Linked DNA regions of Homo sapiens: regions 2 and 3 are each linked to region 1. The links are contacts of gene promoters, found by promoter capture Hi-C in blood cells and fetal thymus (Javierre and others, 2016). All regions are on one chromosome and are shown on one strand. Each heading gives the region's core, a stretch centred on a gene start or on the middle of the fragment in contact. The rest is flanking DNA. Distances are from core to core; before and after follow the strand shown.

Region 1 (4,902 bases), core at 1,333-3,832:
TGTTTCTAGTCTTAAAATGGTTCCATTTCATGTTGGATTGCAAGAGACCTGGTTTCTGGTCATAGTGTCATGACCTCTTGGTGACTTAACTGCGTATGACTTTGTTGGGACATAGTTTCTTCTACTGAAAAATGAGTATGACGATAGATGTAACTTGTGATTAAAGATGCAGCTTTTAAATATGATGATGTTTGGTAAAATGCTTGAGATTTTGGAGGTGAGTTTCTTTCCAAACAACAACAACAAAAAGAAAATTTTTATTTGTTCCTGAACAAATTAAATAAAGTTTTAAAAGCATTGCAACTTGGTCATGGTTTGTAAAATAGTCTGAAAAGATGTTATCTCAAAACTTTGATAATTACTTTTCTATATGTAAGAATTTGCTTCCTCTTTCTTAAGATACATTATAGTTTAGTATAGTTTAGTAATGAAAAGTGGATTAGGCATGAGAAGACCTGGATATTAGTTTCTGCTTTGTTTCTTGCCAGCTCTGTGAACTTGGGCAAGTCACTGGGCTTCAATTTTCTCATTTGTAAAACAGAAATAGTAAATATGACTTATCTTGTCTAACTCAAAGGATTGTTTTGAAATATGTCAAGACATAATAAAAGCTTGCATTTACAGAGATTTTCACTTATAAGGATTAAGTTCTGAGTTAAGTGTTTTATATATATTGCCTTATTTAATCTCCACTCCAACACTATGAGTTAGGTAAGAATTTGTATCCATTTTTCAGATATGGAAACTGAAATTCAGAGAGGTTAAGCAAGTTGCCTGAGTTCATATAGCTTACTATCGGGGGGAAGGAACAAGATCTAAATCTTAACCATAATGGTTCTGCTTTTATAAAAGTAAAATTATCTACATAAAAAGGCATTATGTCTTTTTTTCTCCTCCTCCTCATTTTTCTTCTTCTACTTTTTCTTTAATACTTCCTTTTCTCTCTCTCTGTCTTGTAATGATGGCCATAATTTGTCATATACACTTTAGTAGGGTTAAGTTTTGATAAACAGTAAGCCAGGATTGGGGCAAAACACCAGTCCGGGTACGGTCCATAGCCAATCATTTGATTGTCTTTACTAATTTAGCAAATGTATCTTGGTAACTTAGTATATACCATGGCTATTCTGGGTGCAGGGATTCTACAAACATGAACACAATGTCATTCCTCCCTTGGAGTAAGACACGTACATAAATAATTATAATATGAGGCAGGAGTGATTATATGTCATCAAAAAGAGATAAATGCCATATAAGGAGAGTTCAGAAAGGAAATTAATAAATTCCAAGTAAAGGGGATCATGGACTTTTGCACCAATGTCCAGGGACAATAGTGCTTGCCTTTGTCTAAACTATCAGAATAACTAGATATGTGGTTATTAAATGTTAAGGAGATGCAGAGTAGGGTAAATTGTTTATCTGAGAGGCTGGGCTTAGGAAATAAGGCAAACTATAACGTGGTAACACGCCTCCCCCTCCTTAGATACCACTTGAGAATTTAATTTCTCTAAGTTTTTTTGAGGAAAAAGAATATTTACTGTGGAAGAATATACTTTGATGGCTGGAGGAGGGAAGGAAGGAGGCTGGAGGATGGGAGGGGGATCATCTCATGTTTCAAACTGTTGATTTCCAGTTTCCACCTGGTAACAGCCTAGGGGCCAGAGCATAATGATACAAGTCAAAACACAGAGACCTACACAGAGACAACTAACAGCATCCAGCAAGGGAATTATAAAAGCTCAAAAAAGATTTCCAGTGGCTAAATAAATACCTTTCCTTGTAGTTGCACTTGTTTTTCTTTTCATTTACTGAAATTTGGAAAGACACATAGACTCTATTGCCTTTTCAAAGTTCTAGTTTACATAAAAGTATAATCTATGAAAATCAAATTTTTCATATATAGAGGATGAAACTATGTTGTGATCAACTACAGGTTATCTATGTATTTTATTTAAAAACTGGTGGACAGGGAGAAAGATTTTAAACTATGATTAATGAAAGTGATAGATGACATACTTTTCATATAAAACCATGACTTTCTTTCAGGACACTTTAGAAATATGTCCAAAATATACAGAAAAACTCCACAGCATAGTGCTTGAATTTACACAAACATTCCAAGGCAAGTAGGAATCCGAATGAGTAGTTTCACATAAGGCTACTCATTTATTTTTGCAGTCCACATTTAAAACAACTACAAGATTAATTTCATTCCATTTTTCTGGACTTACACATCCCAAAAGCAAGAAAAAAATGTCATTTTGGAAGTATAATAAATGCTACTTGTAAACAAGGCTAGAAAGGGTGGAGAATGAAATGAGATGGGGGGTGGGGAAACAAACCCTTTAGTTACAATATCTTAGGGAAATGAATCTACAATAAGACAAATTTCAAATCAAGTTGCTCCACTATACTGCATAAGCAGTTTAGAATCTTAAGCAGATGCAAAAAGAATAAAGCAAATGGGAGGAAAAAAAAGGCCGATAAAGTTTCTGGCTACAATACAAGAGACATATCATTACCATATGATCTAATGTGGGTGTCAGCCGGATTGTGTTCATTGAGGGAAACCTTATTTTTTAACTGTGCTATGGAGTAGAAGCAGGAGGTTTTCAACCTAGTCACAGAGCAGCACCTACCCCCTCCTCCTTTCCACACCTGCAAACTCTTTTACTTGGGCTGAATATTTAGTGTAATTACATCTCAGCTTTGAGGGCTCCTGTGGCAAATTCCCGGATTAAAAGGTATGGTTTTCAATAATTGTCCTGAACTCTGCTACAGACTAATAAAACTTCGGTCAAGTTGCGAGCAAAAGGGATTATTTGGTGAGAAAAAGAAAAGGAAAAAAAAAACTGTTAAACTTTTATAGTTTTTATGCAACATTTTAAACAAGTATTATTTGAAAACAGAAGTTAAATATTTGATAAAATGATTGAATGCATTGTTTTATTTCTTTCTCTTCTGTTTTTGCAAAGATGCTTCTTAAAAAACTGTAACCTAACACCATGACTCTCTATATTAATGTTTTTGTGTTTGTATTAATGAATGTTTAGCTCTTCAAGAGATGGTAACCGAAAAGTATTCTGAAGTAGCATATCTGTAATTGACCTATATATTTAAAAAATGTATTTTTCTCCTGAATTTTTGATTGCTTTAAGGACTTTTAAAAGCCCAGAAGAACTGAACTCTGGTGATTAGCTGAAAATACCTAATGTATATTTCTTCAACCCCAGAAATGAACAGAAATTATCACCAGAGAAGTGAAAATAAACATTGAAAATATTTATGTTATTAAATGCCTAAGATACTAAAAACGCTGTATAATTTCTTAAATGTAAAGTGTCCCAGTCAGTATCTTCACTGCAAGTGAAATTTTAAGATACATTCACTATAAAATGAGGATGTGGGTTAATTTTCTAATTTTAAAACAGGGTAACACAGTGACCACTGATTAAGTGGGCTCCCAGTGATGTAAATACCTGTGGCTTTTTTTTTTCCTGTTGCTGTTTCTAACCAGAAAAGAGCCAAATGCCTCCTATAGTAACCCTTGTTTGTGGATAAATGCCGCCTTTATTCTTTATTTTAAAATTACATATATTATAATTGAAGTTTTTAATCATCTAGTGCTGTAGGATTTTAATTTTGTTTTGCATTTATAGCTTCACTTATCTCTTGAGGGTTAAATTTTGACTTTGAAAGTGACACCAGAGGCATAGATAACATAATGCAAATGTTGATCTGGATGACATACTTCATTTAATGGGCTTAACTAGTTTTAGGAACCAGAAATTATTATTTTTGGTAAAACATTTGTAAACTATGGCAACTAGCTTCAGTGGAGTAGTGATATTACATTAGTAATTAGCATCTTGGACATTGTCATGCATTTTTAGACTACTTAAAACAGTTTCAGTATAATTTAAACAGCATATCATCTCAATAACAATCTCTTTGGTTACTACTTGGACAGCTGCTCTTTGCTCTTTATATTTCTGATTAATTAAGGAAAGAAGGAAATGACGAAAGGAATTATCAGTATTGACAGCCCACATTAAATGTTTTAAGATGCTGGGTCTTGAAGTACCATGACACTAATTTAAAACAGATGATTTTATGGAAGATTTTGCACAAAGTTTCTGGACATGCAATTATTTTTTCACAGTACAGTCAGGGTTAAATGCACACACACACATACACTCTCTCTCTGTCACACACACATGAACACACACACATACATTCTCTCTCTCTCACACACACACACACACGAGCAAATGAAAATGAAATAAAGGTCGGTGATTGAAGTTATAAGCTGCCTGTCTATATTCAGCTTCAATCAAAAAGAATATTGTTTGGAGAATTTGTACCATTTTAACAGGAGTAAACAAACATAAATTATAATACTATTTCTCTCAGCTAATACTCAACATTTTCTTTTTGTGGGTTGTTAGTGAAACAACCAGGCATGTTCTGCTCTGGAGAAAAGATTTCAAAGTGACATCTGCATTAACTGTCGTTGCTATTTATTAAATCTGCAATGACTTTGCTTCATTTTTCTTTTAAACTTGTAAGACATTAAATATGCAAGGCTAGCAAGCTTGTGGTAAACCATAAACATTGCATTTTTAATGGGAAACAGATACAAAACCACTCCCTCAGATACAATCCAAAGGAACAGGCTGCCAAAACAAAAGTCTTCTCTTAAAGGGATACTCAGTAACTGAATGAGAGTGGGCTGCTAGAAGAAGCTTAATGTTGAACTTAAAGTGGCAGTGTGAATAATAATCTTTATGATATTTTGTTAAATGAAAAGCCACAAGCCTGTATTCAACATGTGCTGCCTTAGACACATATCAGTAGTAAATATAAACTAAGAACAAACATGTAAGAAACTGAAAAACATTT
Region 2 (4,902 bases), core at 1,089-3,588, 1.5 Mb before region 1:
TGAAAACGTCCACTAATTATTCTTCCTTTGTGTATCTCCCTCATTGCTTCCCTCCCTCCAACATAGTGCCAACCATTTAGCATGTTTTCCTCCGCCACCCACAGTTTACTTGTCAGTCCCATCTTCTCAATTGTGAGCTGATAATGGACATCTTGGCATCTTAGATATCTGTCCCAGTACTTGGCCCAGTTGCTCAACACATGTGTGTAGAACAAGTTGCTTCTTTTTGGGGAAAAGAATGGATCAATCCCAACAACTTGTAGTAGTGTCCCTTCCTTGGCCAAGTTCTTCCCTTCTGAAAGCATATTCTATCTCTCAGGCAGCCCTCAGAGCTTCCCTGTCCTAGATAAGCCCTCGGGAGGGCTAGGGGGGAGATGCCCCTTCTCCTGAGACCTCAGATGTGATTGGTGACCAGCTCTGCCTCTGTTTATTCGAAGAAAGAGCTCAGGAGGGGCTGCATCATAAGCCTTGTCTCAGATCTGTCAGAAAAACAGACAAAGCACGTCTCTAAATGACTGATGAGCAACAGCCCTGGTGGCAATGGTGTTACCATTTTACTAACAATTTAAGATTTGCAGCTCATAATGTTTACAGTATGTTCCATATAAACGTTTTATTTTTGGGAAAAAAAGTGAAAGTCAATCATACACTTGGCTATGAGAATAAGTTGTTTTCCAAACCCTAATTAAAGATACTACTACTAGTGATACGGCCAAGATTGACTGAGCGTCTGTGTGTGCTCAGCTCTGGGGTAGGCTCCACTTGCATTATACGGCATTCGTTACAATCACCCTGTGAGGCTGGCACTGGTCTTCTGCCTTTTATAGGGAAGATCTGAGTTGAGGGAGAGTAATCCATTTGGCCAAGGTCATAGGGCAGTAAGGGAAGCAGCTAGAATTAGAACTTCAGAGGGCTTTTTATTTAGCGATGGGACTTAAAAAATAGCAAGGTGTGTGTGTCCATAGAACCACTGCAGATGTCAGCAACTGATGCCAAACTGATTGGCAAGGCCACGTGGGCAGATTTTTAACAGAATGAGGCATAGTAACAGTCCATAAGGCCCCGCTGCTGCTGCTGGTCGTGGTGTGTAAGTAATGCAACTAGTAATGCTGGGAGAACACAAATCAGTCCCTTTTCTCCCCCTAGAAAACAGGAGTCAGGTTGTCATCATGAACATTCCCTCCCTCTTCCCACAGCATGCCAGAAGGAACGGCTTGACTGTGGCCACCCTTGTCTTAGGCAGTAAAGTCTCAGGGACCGCTGATTGAGATGGATAACTCGTCAATTATTGATGGAGCCAAGAATGAATTTAAACCCACTAGGATTAATCCAATTGGCTTTCCCAGAAATAGAAGTGTATTTGCAGAATCTGTTTCTGTAAGATCTCATTCATTTTTCAATGTTCCCAATATACACGACACTAACTGCAAACTGGGGCATACATTTGTGCAAGTTTGCTTCATCGAGTGAGCTGCTTTCTAAGCAGCAAGTTATAAATTTAGTGTTGTAAAGCATCACTATATTAGGATTGCTTTGTGTTTTTTTGCAGAACTAATTAACCACTGGCAATTAGCACTGTTTCGCTGCACAAATTGGCACCACTTGGCATGTTCCGTAGCCAATACTACGGATGTGATGATATCATTTATATTTCACGTGCCATCTGCCTTTATACAAAGATAAAGCAGAATGAAGAGACTCTTCAGCCATTTCTTACTTTCTTAGCTACAGGAAGCTTAATTAAAACAAAAATGGCAATTTGCAACACTTACCACTCCTCTTTTGGAGAAAGGCCATCTTGGCTTTTTGGATTCTGGGTGAAATTAAAGACAATATATTATTACGAGTACTTAGAGTAACTAGCGACAGATCATCGTAGTGCTTTACAAAACCTGCTTTTTGAAAATTAGCCAAACAGAATTCATCCTGCTTTAATTCTCTTTCTCTTGAGAATGCACAAAATGAATATTTATATTTTTGCAGACAAGTGAATGAAACAATGTTGCAACCTAAAAGTTGGTGTTCTGTTGCTGCCTTAAGGTGGTACTGTCCTGTTTCTTTACTGGTGTATTATTTAAACTCTTTTTCCTCATTGCTTGAAAGGAAATCTATAAACTGTACTGAAGATGTTGAGTAATTTATTTAAGACAGGGAGCCAAAGCACTCTGGGGCTAAAAGGACAGGCCCTTCATTTTCACACCATCTTTCCAGAACGCCCCCATCACATGCAAACTTCAATAGCTTGAGCAAATGGGAGACTTGGAAACTGCATTCACTCATAATCCCCAGATGTGGTTAAATGAAGACTCCCAAAATAGGGAACATTAAAACATCACCCATGTCGGGGCTTCTTGCTACTGGCCATCTTCTAGGAGTTGCTTTGACTTGAGAAGGAAGCCGTTATTCAATCCCTCATTATTTGGAAGACCAGGAAGGAAAGAGATTCGATTGGATTCTAGCCTTTTGAATTTTATGCTGTTTGCATAAAGTTGTAATGCTACCTAGCCAAAGCTGAAAATTGTCTCTTAGGTGTGGGTGGCATGTTCTGACCATTCAGCATACAAAATGGATGTCTTATACGTCCATCTCTCTCTCTATCAGATCCCCCAGGAGAGTGTGCATAATAATTCAATCAAAGGGAAGCAATGAACTGAGCAGCATTTACTGCAAAGGATGTGCTTAAGGCACCTTCCCACTGTAACCTTGGGAGGCACCTGCCCAACAGATTATCCTCTCATTCATTTTGACCAGCTTATTGATCTTTATTAAAGAGAGATTAGGTGGACTCTCCCTTAGGCACAAATCAGCTTCACCACACTTAGATTTCACATGCCTGGCAGTAAATTATTACATCCAATTTGAACTGCAATAATTGGGGTCCCTGATCCTTGGCCAATTTCTCTCCTGTGCTTTTCTAGCTTTGGAGCCTTGGGAAAGCTTTGTAAATATTCAGAAGATTCATGAGTCCTTATTGAATCCACAATCTTTCATTATCTGCCTTAAATATACAATTTTGCTAAGCCAGAATCTTTATTTCAACTATATCTGCAGGTGACTCATATGCACAGCAAAGCGTGAGCAGCACTGCTTTAGACCGTGACTTGGGAACATGAGGCCTCTATTCTAAACTCCTGAGAAGAGGGCAGAGGGGTATAGGGAGGAGGCTGCTTATCTTTTGCTGTGTGGTATCTACCACGATGCTAGGCACACACAAAAATAACAGCTAGTGAGATGTAGAAGCAGCGATGAACTTGTTCCTTAGCATGTGGTTCTCAAACTGTAGCCGGCATCAAAATCACCTGCAGAACTTGTTAAAAAAGACTGCTGGCTGGGCACAGCGGCTTGCGCCTGTAATCCCAGCACCTTGGGAAGCCAAGGCAGGTGGATTACCTAAGGTCAGGAGTTCGACACCACCCTGACCAATATGTTGAAACTTCGTCTCTACTAAAAGTACAAAAAAATTAGCCAGGCGTGGTGGTGGCCACAGAGTGAGACTCTGTCTCAAACAACAACCACCACCACCACCACAACAAACAAAATGGACTAACAGACTGCTGGACACCACCCCCAGAGTTTCTGATTCAGAAGGTCTTGGGGGTGGGCAGCCTGGAATCTGCATTTCTAACAACTTCTCAGGTGATGGCAAAGCTGCTAGTTCGGGACAGCCTTTGAGAACCACTGTTGTAGTTGTTAACTAATTGACAGCATTCTAAAGCCTCTTAAAATGTAGTAACCTCTGTTAAGGCCACATTGTGTTTAGAACTAGCTCAGATTTCTAGGGGCATGTCCTCAAGCAGATCACTTAATCCCTCTTGGTTTGTTCACTTGGATTACTGTATCATATAAGACAGTAAGTAGATGTGAAAGGCTCTGTAAAAATAAAGAGCTATAAACATGTTAGTTATGATGTATTCACTGGTGGTCCTGGGCTCCACGTACAGGAGACTGCAGCTGCCCATACAATAGATGACAGATGATAACAGATGCAGACTGGTAGAGAGGGCACTGGACTCACAGTCAGGAGCCTTGATTCCATTTCTCTGCACAAACCAGCTGACCCCATGACTAGGCCACTTCTCCTTTCTGGGTCTCACTCACACATATGTGAATGAGGGATGACCCTGGTGGTTTTTAAACTGTTTTGTTGGGTGTCTGAGACTCCTGGGGATGCCTTGGAGGTGAGTCTTTGGGGCTCATCTCAGCTGCAAGCATTGCAACTTCACCTGGATTTGTTTTATACATTGGATTTCCAAGCAAGGATTCTTTTGTAAAAAGGACTCTGCTAAGAACTAAACCAGTTTAAAAACCACCAGCATGGATAATCCTTAAGTCTCCTCTTAGCTCTCAAAGGCTTTGATTTACCTATCCCCAGAATCTTGAAGAAAACACTCTGAAGACCCTAATTGTTCTTTTATTTCACAAATGAGATGAAGATGCAGACGCTTTATCCCTAAAGCTGCCTGTCTATCAGACACTCATCTGCCACCGGCACCTCTGCCTCCCCATGGTACCACCCTGGTTGGAAGATATCAGTGTGAGGCTGAAGCCCAGGAGTGGGGTGGGAGATGAACATGACAGCAATAATGGGGAAGCTACTCACCAGCCTAGAGAGGGCACTCTGATCTAGGATGCTGCACCTGTCTCAGGTCTTGGGCCTGGGATAAGACATTTGGCCAGAAGACATTTTAAGGGAAGAACCATACCTTATTCATCTCTGTAAATGGAATGCCCAATACCAAGACTGGTACTCAGCTGGTTCCCGTAATTCCAGTAACAGCTGGTGCCCGTTGTAATTGGTGAGGCTGATTGTAACAGGTCAGTGCATATATTCTACTAATTATTCAATATTTTGAAAATTCCCCCTGGTTATGGCAATATCTGTTCCACAGTGGGCATGGAATG
Region 3 (4,902 bases), core at 999-3,498, 1.5 Mb before region 1:
CCTTTGTACTTCTATGTATTAATTGTTGTGTCTCCTTTTTCACTCTGATTTTATTTATTTGAGTCTTCTCTCTTTTTTTTCTTAGTCTAAGTAAAGGCTTTTAAATTCTATATTGTCAAAACACCACGATTTGTTTTGTTGATCTTTTGTATTACTTTTCTAGTCTCTATTTCTGCTCAGGTTTTTTCTTTTTTCTTCTTCAGAGATGGGGGTCTCACTCTGTTACCCAGGCGGGAGTGTAGCAGTGCAATCATAGCTCACTGTAGATTTTAACTCCTGGACTCAAGGGTTTTCTCCACCTCAGCTTCCCAAGTAGCTAGAATCTCAGGTGCACAGAACCATGCCTTGCTAAATTCTTTATTTTTGTAGAGACTGGGTCTTATTGTGTTGCCTGTTCTGAGCTTCACTATGCTCTTCCTTCTACCAATTTTTAATTTAGTTTGTTCTTGTTTTCTAGTTCCTCGAGGTGCAACATTAGGTTATTTATCAGAAATCTCTTATCTTTTTGATGTAGATGTTTATTGCTATAAACCTCCCTTTAGAATTGCTTTTATTTTTGTATCCCATAGGTTTTAGTATGTTGTCTTTGCTTTCTTGTTTGTCTTAATTTTTTTTTAAATTTCTCTTTTAATTTCTTCATTGATCTATTGTTCATTCAAAAACATGCTGTTTAATTTCCATATATTTGTAAATTTTCTGAAGTTCCTCCTGTTATTGATTTCTAGTTTAATATCGTTGTGGTCAGAAAAGATACTTGACATGACCTCTATCTTCTTAAATTTGTTAAGACTTGTTTTGTGACATATAATCTATCCTGGAGAATGTTCCACATGCAGTTGAGAAGAATTGTGTATTATGAAGCTGCTGGATAGAATGTTTTGTAAATGTCTGTGTCTAGGGTGCACTTTAAGTCCAATGCTTCTTTGTTCTTTTCTGTCTAGATGATCTTTCTATTGTTGAAAGTGGGTTGTTAAAGTCCCTTAATATTATTGCATTGTGGCTGGTCTCTTTTTGTAGATTTAATAGTATTTGCTTTATATATTTGGGTGCTCTTGTGTTGGGTATATATACATTTCTGATTGTAATATCCTCTTGCTGAATCAATCCCTTTACCATTACATAATGACTGTTTTAATCTCTTCATTTTTTTCTCTACTCCCATGACAGATTACTACTTTGTTTCTTTTTTACAATTTTTTCTTTCTTTGTATGGTTTTTGACTTAATCTCTATCTAAATAAATAACTTGACTTAAACTCTAGCTAAACAAATAACTAAGGTTATTATTGATAGGTAAGAACTTACTCCTATTTTGTTAATTGTTTTCTGGTTGTGTCATAGATCCTTTGCCCTTTTCTTCCTCTCTTTACCATTTTGGTTTCATGCTTTTCTGTGGTGCTAAGCTTTGATTCCTTTCTCTTTCTAATTTGTGTATCTTTTGGAATTTCTTTCTTTGTGATTATTGTGGGGTTGACATAAAGTCTTGTAGTTATAATAGACTATTTTAAGGTGATAACAGTTTAGCTTTGGTCACAAAAAATACTCGAGGCCCCCGCCCCCCACCCAGTTTATATTTTTATTGTCTTAATTTACATCTTTATCTATTGTGTTACTTTAGACTGATTGTAGCTATTGTTATTTTTGACCATTTTGACTTTTAACCTTCATACTAGAGGCTTGAAAGAGTTCCATAATACTATTCTAGTACTAGAGTGTTCTGAGTTTGATTATGAATTTACCTCTACTAGTGACTTTTATACCTTCACATGTTTTTATTATAGTAATTATCCTTTTCCTTCTAATTGTAGCACAAGAATTTCTTGTAAGGCTGGTCTAGTAGTGATGAATTCCCTCAGCTTTTGCTTGTATGGAAAATATTTTATTTCTTTTTCATTTCTGAAGTATTAGTATAGTATTTTTGGTTACTAGCTTTTTTTCTCCTTCCAGCACTTTGAATCCATCATCCCATTCTCTTTTGGCCTGCAAGGTTTCTGCTGAGAACTCTGATAATCTAATGGAGAGTTTCTTATATGTAACTTGTCAGTTTTTTCTTGCTGCCAAAACTAGTATATTAAACAAGGCAAATAGAGCCATGTAATTTACAAATTACTGTCACATGTATTTTCTTATTTAATTTTTACCTTTGCTATAGGTATTATTCTCATTTGCAAAATAGGAAAACTGAGGTTCAGAAGATTACACTTTTGTGATAGGTACCTTATAGGTTTTTAGGGGACAGGAGACACTATATGATTTTAGATGGAACTTTCTCTTGGACTAACAATAACTAATGCATATTGGGTGCTTTCTATGTGCCATGCTTTATAATGGTGTGTTCTATGTTTTACTTGATCTACAAAACATCCTGAAGAGGTAGTAAATATTACTATTCCCCTTGTGCAAATGGAAAGACAATCTTACCGAGGGTAAATAACTTGACTAAGTCACACTTAATTTTAAGGTATAATGGAGCTAGGATTCAGATCCAGATTGGTTTCAATCTGAGAGCACTTGTTCTTAGTCTGTGTGGACATGATCTTTGGAGATGGTGCATCTGAGCAGTATCTGAACCCTTCAGAGAAGGGAATTTTTGCCTTTGGCTACCTAGTTTCTGTACTCAGCAAAAACACAGAAAGAAACAGCAAAAAAGACTCCACTGAAGGCTTGAATCCTTCAACCCAAGTGTCTCTGTGATTTTTTTTCTGTAGAATAAGAGTTACTTATATCCTATTTGTCATATCAATTGCTATTGAAGATTTATTTTGCAATGCCCTATTATTTCCAGAAAGGATTTTAGGAAGCTATAAGGGCCTATAGGAGATCTCACATAATCCCATAAGTAGTTTTATATCCATAGGAAAGGCAGGCCTTTCCTAAGAAGCCAGCCTCTAAGTAGATAATTTTAAGTTAATTGGGACATTCTGCATTCTGTTATTCTTATCATACAAAAGGCCCTGGTGCAGTCCCAGTTTGAGACATCTTCCTACTTCTTCAACACAAAAAATTACTCTGAATAAGAGCAAAATGTTACAAATTGTTTTGACAACATTCAAATGGTATAGAAATACATAAAGCAAAAATGAAATCAAAGCTTTTCTACAATTGGATTTTAGCATCTCAGTGGTTCAGGAGATCAAACATTGAACAAGGTTGATGAGGAGAATATAATATGAATTTCTCCTCTTCAACCAAGCACTTACTGGATTTTATTGTAATGGAAACAAAGTCCACTTGCTTTCCTCTTTAGCTTTATGTAGAATGATCCTCAAAAGGCTGAGCAGGTGCCATGGGACTCACCTTCTAGGCAGACATATTGTCAGTCACCTTCTATATGTGGTTTGTTGATCTCAAGCTTCAGTCAAGGGCTGCTCTGTGCTTTAATGATGAATGGTGCAGCAGTTCACCGTTATTTTTGGTGCCAGTGTTACCAAAACACCAGGGATTTGGCCTAGGTCCTGCTGCCCACCACACAGAAAACCAATAATTGAGACGATGAACATAGCCAGGAAAGAAGGCTTTAATTGGGTGCTCCAGCCAAGGAGTTGGGAGATCAGTCTCAAATCCGTCTCCCTGACTGACTAAAATTAGGGGTTTATATAGCAGGGAAGAAATGTATGGGAAAACAGGAACTAGGGAGGGGCAAGGAAGCAATCATGATGAATGAGGGGTCTGGTGTCTCATTGTCTGGATACGATGATCTGGTGAGTTTTAATTTTTTGATACTTTTTGAGAGGTCTGGGAGTCCTTTCCTGAAGAAGGAACTCAGATAAAACAAATGAAATTTCAAACATGAAGACCCAAAGGGTCAATTTTTATGTTTTTCCAAGAAAAAAACTGCCTATGGGACTATTGGGTTGGTTTCATCAGCATGATTCTTTCTTGTTCCGAAGAAGTTACTTGTGTATGAAATAGAGTTGAATGTCACAATGTTATTCAGAAATACAAAGTTCTCAGCGTTTGTAAATTTTGGGTTTTTTTTTGGTAACAGCTTTATTAAGATGTGATTCATATTGCATATAATTTACATACCATGTAATTCATCTACCTAAAGTGTACAATTCAATGGTTTTTAATATACTCATAGAGTTTGCAACCATCACCATAATCGATTGTAGAATATTTTTATCACTCTGAAAAGAAATCCTGCATCCTTTAGTTATCACTCTCTCATCTTCCCATTTCCTCTCTTGCTCCCAGCCTTAGGCAACCACTAATCTAGTTTCTGTCTCTATATATTTGCCTATTATGGACATTTAATATGAATGAAACTTTCTAATATGTGGACTTGGCTGTCTGTGAGTAGGCAGTATGCTGTGGTGGCTAAGAGCAAGGGGCAGATTTGGTTTCAACTCCTTGCTTTCTGGCCTACTACCTGTGCAACCACGTGCAGAACCCAACCTAATTTAAAGCTTTCTTTCTTGCCAAATGAAGATTTTTAAATAATTTTCCTTTATTTAAAAAATGTTTTAATTTTGCGATCATTTCAAACTTATAGAAAAGTTGCAAGAATGGTGCAAAGAATCCTTGTGTACTGCACCCCATATGTTCCAGTTGTTAATAATACTTACATTTACTTTGTCATTCTCTCAGTCTCTCTGTATCTGTGTTTATATATTTTTCAAACCATTTGAAAGTAAATTACAGAATTTTCTTTACCCCTAAGTATGTTAGTGTGTATTTCTGATAAATACACTTTTTTTTGGTATATAACCACAGAAGAGTTATCAAAATTAGGAAATTAACATTGATGTAATACTATTATCTAATTAAATGTTGTCAATTGCCCCAATAATGTTGAGGATCACCTGCTAGCTTTAGTGATTTTTAATCTATGACAATTTCTTAGGAATTATTTGCTTTTATGACCTTGACATTCTGAAGAGAATTGACCACTTATTTTATA

What was found. Contacts are between HindIII fragments. The CHiCAGO score rates a contact against its expected background, and 5 or more counts as called.
Region 2: a fragment that was not itself captured here is called in contact with the fragment with the promoter of DCN in region 1 in 4 of 17 cell types (total CD4 T cells, naive CD4 T cells, naive CD8 T cells and 1 more); the score reaches 8.2 in total CD4 T cells.
Region 3: a contact is called between a fragment that was not itself captured here and the fragment with the promoter of DCN in region 1, in 2 of 17 cell types (total B cells and naive CD4 T cells). The highest score is 7.0, in total B cells.

What each region holds. Positions count from the first base shown.
Region 1 is chr12:91,180,497-91,185,398 of GRCh38, reverse strand. DCN (decorin) reads left to right here and starts at 2,582. Exons shown (of 8, transcript NM_001920.5): 1 at 2,582-2,744. The HindIII fragment of the contact is 3,983 bases long and covers 614-4,596 here.
Region 2 is chr12:92,729,144-92,734,045 of GRCh38, reverse strand. PLEKHG7 (pleckstrin homology and RhoGEF domain containing G7) reads right to left here. Exons shown (of 17, transcript NM_001377329.1): 5 at 1,773-1,813. Among named protein-coding and RNA genes, the nearest start is that of PLEKHG7, 29 kb to the right of the region's middle. The HindIII fragment of the contact is 1,202 bases long and covers 1,738-2,939 here.
Region 3 is chr12:92,641,869-92,646,770 of GRCh38, reverse strand. The region is part of intron 1 of LOC124902983 (a long non-coding RNA gene); the gene reads left to right. Among named protein-coding and RNA genes, the nearest start is that of PLEKHG7, 59 kb to the left of the region's middle. The HindIII fragment of the contact is 1,688 bases long and covers 1,405-3,092 here.